Regions from separate parts of the Homo sapiens genome. Here region 2 is linked to region 1. Evidence: promoter capture Hi-C in human tissues and cell types (Jung and others, 2019). All regions are on one chromosome and are shown on one strand. The core of a region is centred on a gene start or on the middle of the fragment in contact, and the rest is flanking DNA. Distances in the headings are between cores, read along the strand shown.

Region 1 (4,642 bases), core at 586-3,085:
ACCACACCCAGCTAATATTAAAAAAAAATTTTTTTTGGCCAGGTGCAGTGGCTCATGCCTGTAATCCCAGCACTCTGGGAGGCCGAGGTGGGCAGATCACCTGAGGGTCGGGAGTTTGAGAACAGCCTGACCAACGTGAAGAAACCGCGTCTCTACTAAAAATACAAAATCAGCCAGGCATGGTGGCACACGCCTGTAATCCCAGCTACTCGGAGGCTGAGGCAGGGGAATCGCTTGAACCCAGGAGGCAGAGGTTAGAGGTTGCAGTGAGCCAAGACTGTGCCATTGCACTCCAGCCTGGACAACAAGAGCAAAACTCTCAAAAAAAATTTTTTTTGATTTTTTTTGTAGAGACAAGGGTCTCCCTATGTTGGCAAGGGTGGGCTCCAGTGATCCTCCCAACTTGGCCTCCCAAAGTGCTGGGATTTACAGGCATGAGAAGACTGTCCTGATTATAAGGGACAAGGCTTTGTTGTAGCTAACACAAGTGTAACCTTAGAAATTGCTTTAACGTTGCCATTTTTTACAGAAAGAACACAGCCCCAGCTAAGCTTAGAAGGTTGAATATATCTCCCTTGTGATAGAAAACGTTTGGTTTCAGCTGGGCACGGTGGCTCACGTCTGTAATCTTAGCACTTCCAGGCTGGGACAGGTAAATCACCGGAGGTCAGGAATTCGAAACCAGCCTGGCCAACATGGTGAAACCCCGTCTCTACTAAAATACAAAAATTTAGCTGGGTGTGGCGTGCGCCTGTAATCCCAGCTACTGGGAAGGCTGAGGCAGAATTGCTTGAGCCCAGGAGGCGGAGGTTGCAGTGAGCCGAGATCCCGCCACTGCACTCCAGCCTGAGTGACAAAGCGAGACTCCATCTCAAAAGAAAAAAAAAGTTTGCTTTTATTTTGACAAATAAGGTCATGCATTGATCAACAAATGCGGGAGTACCTTTCATGAAACATGCACTGTTTTAGGTACTAGCCAGGACAGTGGTGAGCAACAAAGTCCTTGCTCTTTTGAAGTTTACATTCTTATTGGACAGGAACTGGCAGAAAATATCAAGTAGTGATAAATACTATGATTAAAAACAAAACTAGGTGAGAGACTGCAGTAGAAGGGACCTTAGGTTGAATGGCTTGGGGAGGCCTGTCAATAGAGGTTACATTTATGCTGAAATGTTCTGAATGTGGAAGATGTGTTAAGAAGGTACAGTTGTCTTTTAGGAGACTTTACCAAAATACCTATTCAACCCCTCTTCTCACCTCAAACTCTTTGCTCCTCTCCTTCTCTTGATCTTGGATCATACTTCCCTGAGAAAACAGACAGGAGCTCTCTACCATCTCCACCCCTTACTTACCCCGTCTCTCTGACTGTTACAATGGATATTATTTGACTTCAAATTTCGGGTCAACACCCTTACTATGGATCCACACTGTAAGACGGTCCATGCTACCAAGGAAATGGCACCACCCCAGAGCCTGTAAGCGAACAGCACAATAAGAAAAGCGAAGAAAAGAGGCAGGAACTGGGTTCCAAGGGAGCTGGAGGCAGCTGGACCAAGAAGGCAAAGAGCAATGCCACAGAGCGAGAACGGCTGCAACGGCCTGCTACGCTAAGCTAGGCCTTCAAGCATGCCAGAGCAGTTAAGCAGAGTGGGACTGGCGTCAGGGCAGATGTGGCTTTGCTAGAGAGGCTGGTACTGCCCCCCACAGGAAACGAATGGAATCGACCGGAGACAGCCGAGAGGTCTCCGCGGGAGTCACGAGGCCGAGCGGGAGCCGCTACGTACACCGCGCATGCCCACGACGCAGTCAGGTTCCGGCGAAAGTGACCGGAAGTAACCGCCGGGCCAAGATGGCTGCAGAGGAAGGGGTCGCGAGTGCTGCTTCCGCCGGCGGTAGCTGGGGCACCGCGGCCATGGGGCGGGTTCTACCGATGCTGTTGGTGCCAGTCCCCGCCGAGGCGATGGGGCAGCTCGGCTCCCGGGCGCAGCTGCGCACACAGCCGGAGGCTCTGGGGAGCCTGACGGCTGCGGGCAGCCTCCAAGTGCTTTCTTTGACGCCTGGCAGCCGGGGCGGGGGTCGCTGCTGCCTGGAGGGCCCCTTCTGGCAGTAAGTGCTGAGGGAGAGTTGGGCCGTTGGGGGAGTCCAGAGCCTAGGCTCGGCTGACTGAGCCCCAAGGGCTCACGCCGAGGCCTCCCTGCAGCCATAGAGGTGGCGGGAGAAGGGTGCCAGCTGCAGGAAACGCCCCAGAGGCGAGCGTGGTTTCCTCACAGAACCTTTCCCCCGACCTGAAACGCTCGCCTCGTTGCATTCTGGCAGCCCAGCTCTCCTGTTCCGGGTGGGCGGAGACGGCACCCAGCTCCATTGCCACCTGCGGCGAACCCGGAACGGGTCTCAGCTGAGGCGCTGATTCTTTCATTATTCAACACAGGTTGATTAACTGTCACAGGGTCGAGTCCCATGCCCATTTCTTTCAGTTAAAGATGCCAGCTGAGGATCATCTCTAATTTGAATCATCCTGATACTTTTTTCATGTCCTTGAAGTGAATAGCGTTTTCTTTCACATGTAGTCCTCTTCTTCAAGGACAGAGTCCAGTTTGTCCCTTCATTTATTCAGCAAATATTGTGTGCTTGCTGTTACATAGGAGCAGTGCCTAAAAAGTTGAGTAAGACACTTCTTTCTTGCGAGGCGCGCATGTTTGGGGAAGACAAACATGATTACAATAATGCATTACTTTGTACTTCCGTAACTCTTGGTTCAGTACTTAAGAGTTTACATCATAAAGTTTGGGAACGCCCTCTTAGTGTTTTGAGTGGGCTGCTGCTTTTTTTTTTTTTTTTTTTTTTTTAAAGATAAGGTCGCTGTCGCCCAGGCTGGAGTGTAGTGGCTCAGTCACGGTTCACGGCAGCCAGCCTTGACCTCCCGGGCTCAGCCTCCCCAGCAGCTACGACTACAGGCGTGCACCACCAGGCCTGGCTAATTTTTCTAGTTTTTGTAGAGATGAGGTCTCACTGTGTTGCCTAGGCTAGTCTCAAGCTCCTGGGCTCAAGTGATCCCGCCTCTCCCTGCCAAAGTGTTGGGATTACAGGTGTGAGCCACTGAGCCTGACCTGTTCTTTTAATAATTATTAATAGTAAGTATTTTCACAACTCTTTCTTTAAGATGAGTAGCCAAAAGGTGTCTTATTAATCTTGGAATCTCCAGCTCCTCTAACAGCTCCTGACATTTAGAGATTCATTTGATACATCAGTGAATGCTTAACTCTTCTGGGTTTGTCTTCTCTACCCTTGATGTCTAGTTGCTCGAAAGAGGAATCTCTGCGTTTAGTTTATAAACTTATTATAAACTAAGTTATTTATAAACTAGTTTAGGGGAAATTAGTTTATTTAGCAGTATCAAGTACCTATGAATGTGGCTCTGTAAAGAGAGGAATGGGGCAAAGAAAAGCCGAAATCTTTAGGTGTTTGAGAACCCAGCAGGGAAGGTAAGACCGAGATGAAATAAAGGGGGCGTTCATATGCTAGTTCATGAAATTAGAGGGGAGGAGGACCAAGAAAGGACTTTTTAACTTTTTTAGTTGAATTGAATTTTAATTCAGTTAAAATACTTCATAGGTTAAAAATAAGGGCATGTTTATAGTATTTAGAGTTTACTTCCTACTTTTTCAAAGTACATAGGTCTTTTTAATATTGTTGAAATTACATCATATATCTTGTTTATTGCATTGAAAATTTCCTGTCTTTCCATGTGGCAATATTGTCCCTATGCTAATGATGTACTCTACCTTTTAAGTATATCTTAGTTTAACCTTTTGTATATTTGACATTTAGGTTATTTTCTACATTTATCAATATGAACAGTCAGAAAAATGTCTTTTTTTTACCTAATAAGGACATATTAATACTATAATAGTATAAAACTACTATAGTAGTATAAAATACATAATAGTACATAATACTATTATGTACTCTTATTAGTTTTATTACTAATTGAATTAAATCATGTATGTACCACAGTAGTTTTATATACTACTCTAGAAGTATAAAACACTACTTCTGTAGAAGCAAGTTTCTTAAAAGATGAAATTTTATCAGCATGGTATAGCCTCACCTCTTTCATTGTGTTATTTTCAAATCTGGGGCTTTTATTTGTAATGTGTAATTTAGTTTTAATATTTAATTTGAAGCTGAAACACCATCAGTCTTGCCAGTGTTGTTATTTTGACATTTCAGTTTAAGAATTCCGTAACTCTACCGTTTAGTAATGGTAGTCATTAGCTACATGTGGCTGTTAAAGTAAAAAATTTGGTTCCTCAGTTGCCCCACATTTCAAGTGTTCAGTAGCTGCATGTGGCTATTGACTACTGTATTGGGCAATGCTAATATAAAACATTTCCATCACGGAAGGTTCTATTAGGCAGAGTTTTTCAAGATTTGGAATCGTCAGTCTATAAATACAAATAATCACTTTCTTTTAAAAGTCAAAACATTTAAGTTATCAAAAGCCTATTTTATTGTGAATACCACCTCATATAAATAATATACATATTTTGTTGTTGATACCTACCCTTGATCATGACAGTTTGTTTAAACATACTAGTTGGGATTAAAGATGAAAGAATAAATGGAGCCATCATTTCTTGCT
Region 2 (4,642 bases), core at 1,196-3,695, 110 kb before region 1:
CTCTACAAGGAAAACTATAAAACACTGCTGAAAAAAACATAGATGACACAAACGGAAAAACATCCCATGCTCATGGATGCGTAGAATCAATATTGTGAAAATGACCACACTGCCAAAAGCAATCTACAAATTCAGTACAATCCCCATCAAAATACCACTATTATTCTTCACAGAATTAGAAAAAACAATTCTAAAATTCATATGGAACCAAAAAAGAGCCCACATAGCCAAAGCAAGACTAAGCAAAAAGAACAAATCTGGAGGCATCACACTACCTGATTTCAAACTATACTATGAGGCCATAGTCACCAAAACAGCATGGTACTGGTATAAAAATAGGCACATAGGGCCGGGCATGGTGGCTCACGCCTGTAATCTTAGCACTTTGGGAGGCCAAGGCAGGTGGATCACAAGGTCGGGAGATCAAGACCATCCTGGCTAACACGGTGAAACCTCGTCTCTACTAAAAAAAAAAATAAAAAATTAGCTGGGCATGGTGGCGGGTGCCTGTAGTCCCAGCTACTCAGGAGGCTGAGGCAGGAGAATGGCATGAGCCTGGAAGGCAGAGCTTGCAGTGAGCCAATATCGTGCCACTGCACTCCAGCCTGGAAGACAAAGCGAGACTCTGTATTTCAAAAAAAAAAAAAAAAAAAACTCATAGGCCAATGGAACAGAATGGAGAAACCGGAAATAAACCCAAATACTTACAGCCAACTGATCTTCAACAAAACAAACAAAAACATAAAGTGGGGAAAGGACACCCTTTTCAACAAATGGTGCTGGGATAATTGGCTAGCCACATGTAGGAGAATGAATCTGGATCCTCATCTCTCACCTTATACAAAAATCAACCAAGATAGATTAAGGACTTAAATCTAAGACCTGAAACTATAAAAATTCTAGAAGATAACATTGGAAAAACCCTTCTAGACATTGGCTTAGGCAAGGATTTCATGACCAATAACCCAAAACCAAATGCAATCAAAGCAAAGATAAATAATTGGGACTTAATTAAACTAAAGAGCTTTTGCACAGCAAAAGGAACAGTCGACAGAGTAAACAGACAACCCATAGAGTGGGAGAAAATCTTCACAATCTATACATCTGACAAAGGACTAATATCCAGAATCTACAACAAACTGAAACAAATCAGTAAGAAAAAAACAAACAATCCCATCAAAAAGTGGGCTGAGGACATGAATAGACAATTCTCAAACGAAGATATACAAACTGCCAACAAACATATGAAAAAAATACTCAGCATCATTAATGGTCAGGGAAATGCAAATCAAAACCAGAATGCAATACCACTTTACTCCTGCAAGAATGGCCATAATCAAAACAATAAAAAAAACTGTAGATGTTGGCATGGATGCAATGAACAGGGAACACTTCTACACTGCCGGTGGGAAAGTAAACTAGTACAGCCACTATGGGAAACAGTATGGAGATTCCTTAAAGAACTAAAAGTAGAATATCGGGGGTGTAGGTTCTTTCTGTTTTCCCTAAGTGTCAGCCAGTCTGAGAAACAAAGAGAAAGAGTACAAAGACAGGAATTTTACAGCTAGGCCGCCAGGGGTGACATCACATATCAGTAGGTCTGTGATGCCCACCTGAGCCGCAAAACCAGCAAGTTTTTATTAGGGATTTCAAAAGGGGAGGGGGTGTATGAACAGGGAGTAGGTCACAAAGATCACATGCTTCAAGGGGCAAAAAGGAGAACAAAGATCACATGCTTCTGAGGAAACAGGACTAGGGCAAAATCAGAACTCCTGATAAGGGTCTATGTTCAGCAGTGCACGTATTGTCTGGATAAACATCTTAGCAGAAAACAGGGTTCAAGAGCAGAGAACCAGTCTGACCTCAAATTTACCAGGGCTGGGGTTTCCCAATCCTAGTAAGCCTGAGGGTACTGCAGGAGACCAGGGCGTATCTCAGTCCTTATCTCAACAGCATAGGACAGACACTCCCAGAGCGGCTGTTTATAGACCTCCCCCAGGAATGCAATTCTTTTCCTAGGGTCTTAATATTATATTCCTTGCAAGGAAAAGAATTTAGCGATATCTCTCCTACTTTCACGTCCATTTATAGGCTCTCTGCAAGAAGAAAAATATGGCTCTTTTTGCCTGACCCCACAGGCAGTCAGACCTTATGGTTGTCTTCCCTTGTTCCCTAAAATCGCTATTATTCTGTTCATTTTCAAGGTGCACTGATTTCATATTCTTCAAACACACGTTTTACAATCAATTTGTACAGTTAACACAATCATCACAGGGTCCTGAGGTGACGTACATCCTCAGCTTATGAATATAACAGGATTAAGAGATTAAGACAGGCACAAGAAATTATAAGAGTATTATTAGGGAAGTGATAAATGTCCATGAAATCTTCACAATTTATGTTTTCTCTGCCGTGGCTCCAGCCGGTCCCTCTGTTTGGGATCCCTGACTTCCCGCAACAGTAGAACTACCATTTGATCGAGCAATCCTACTACTGGGTATCTACCCAGAGGAAAAGAAGTCATTATATGCAAAAGATACTTTCACATGCATGTTTATAGCAGTACAATTCACAATTGCAAAATCATGGAACCAACCTAAATGCCCATCAATCAACAAGTGGATAAAGAAAACTGTGGTATATTTATATGCTGAAATACTACTCAGCCATAAAAAGGAATGAATTAACGGCATTTGCTGTGACCTCAATGAGATTGGAGACTATTATTCTAAGTGAAGTAACTCATGGAATGGAAAACCAAACATTGTATGTCCTCACTGATATATGGGAGCTAAGCTGTGAGGATGTGAAGGCATAAGAATGATACAATGGACTTTGGGGACTTGAAGAGTGGGAGGGGGGCAAGGGATAAAAGACTACAAATATGATGCAGTGTACACTGCTCAGGTGATGGGTGCACCAAAATCTCACAAATCACCACTAGAGAACTTACTCATGTAACCAAATACCACCTATACCCCAATAACTTGTGGAAAAAAATTTTTAAAGTAAAAATAAATAAAACATGTTGCTTTAGTTCAGTGGCTGTCTGCCCCAGCCACACATTAGAATCGCCTGAGAGCTTTTAGAAACTAGTGGCTTGTAGCTACTGTACACTGGGACTCTAGCAGGGTTTCACTTGATAGAGATCTTTCCTTAATTGGTCTTGGCTGGATTCCAGGCATCTAAATTTTTTTAAAGCTTCCTACATGAACCTAATGTGTATCCAGGGTTAAGAACCATTGCATCTTAAGAATAACATATTTCAAGCCTGGGTAACATAGTGAGACCTCGTCTCTACTAAAAATAAAAATTTAGTTGGGCGTAGTTGCCTGCGCCTATAATCCTAGCTACTCGAGAGTCTGAGGTGGGAGGATCCAAGAGTCCCAGGCTGCAAAGAGCCGTGTTTGTGCCACTGTACTCCAGCCTGGGTGACAGAGTAAGACTTTGTCTTAAAAAATAATATATTTCAGCTGTAACTTTTTATACCTTAGAAGTGAATTAATTTTTAGTCAGATTACTTTCTATTGGCATGCCTTTCTTTTTCTTTTTATGCTGCTTTTATACCCTTTAAGACATTAAGCAAGATTCCAGGCACAAAATATGTTCTTACTACGTTCTGATTGAAGTGAATTCAAAAAAAACAAGGCAGTTTCTTAAATGTAGTCTTAATCCTGTTATGGCTGTTTATCCAAATCAGTTGTAAATGTATGCATATTGTATATAACAAACTACATGAATATTGTCTGTAGTATTTGCATTATTTTTCCCATACATACATTTAAGCTTTTGCCCTGACCCCCCCCAAAAAAAAACTGTGCTAATTATAATTTTAGAGGGCCAATGCTGAAGGTCCTAAAAAGTCCCCCCAAAACTGTCAACTATAGAGAATAAAGCCCATTTAGATGAGGACTTCCAAAGAAAGGAAATAGGGACAGTCAATCAAGAGTACTGCTGAGATCAATGATGTTAAGAATTTTAGACTTGGAAAAAGCTCAAGGATGAGTATATTGGAGAGAACAAGATGCAAAATACTACTTAAATTATAGGCAGGAATGATGAAAAAGGACGTAGTCAAAAGTAGATGGAGGTTGGGTGTGGTGACTCACATCTGTAATCCTAGAACTTTAGGAGGTCAAGGTGGGAGGATGCTTGAGGTCAGGAATTCAAGACTAGCCTAGGCAACATAGTGAGACCCCATCTCTCAGACTGCATACATATATATATATATGCATGTCTCCTGCAGATAGATAAAGCAGGGAAATGGAACTGAGAAAGGAAAGGAAAGAATTACAGATTTGCTGGACTAAAATGTATCTTGAGAGAATTCAAGACAAGATTATAAACTAGTCCAGATCATTTCCTACTTTTTTATTTAAGCCTGTGGAGCATGGTTTAAAATTACAGGACAGGCATGGTATCTCACACCTATAATTCCAACACGTTGGAAAGCTGAGGCATGAGGATCTCTTGAGCCCAAGAGTTCCAGAAAAGCCTGGGCAACATGATGAAACCCCATCTCTACTTGTGGTGGCGTGCGCCAATAGTCCCAGCTACTCAGGGTCTGAGATGGGAGGATTGCTTGAGCCCAGGAGGTTGAGGCTGCAGTGAGCCATGATCATGCCACTGCACTCCAGCCTAG

What was found. The method cuts DNA at HindIII sites, captures the fragments that hold promoters and counts their contacts. A contact is called where the count stands out against the background at its distance.
Region 2: a fragment that was not itself captured here is called in contact with the fragment with the promoter of SPG11 in region 1 in 4 of the 25 tissues and cell types used here (dorsolateral prefrontal cortex, lymphoblastoid cells, small bowel and 1 more).

What each region holds. Positions count from the first base shown.
Region 1 is chr15:44,660,855-44,665,496 of GRCh38, reverse strand. It overlaps SPG11 (SPG11 vesicle trafficking associated, spatacsin), which reads left to right and starts at 1,835. Exons shown (of 40, transcript NM_025137.4): 1 at 1,835-2,106. The coding sequence starts at 1,850. RefSeq lists enhancers at 1,371-1,540, 1,581-2,060, 1,535-2,491, 2,601-2,740. The HindIII fragment of the contact is 12,399 bases long and covers 1-4,642 here.
Region 2 is chr15:44,768,244-44,772,885 of GRCh38, reverse strand. No RefSeq gene overlaps it. Among named protein-coding and RNA genes, the nearest start is that of TRIM69, 34 kb to the right of the region's middle. The HindIII fragment of the contact is 5,211 bases long and covers 1-4,642 here.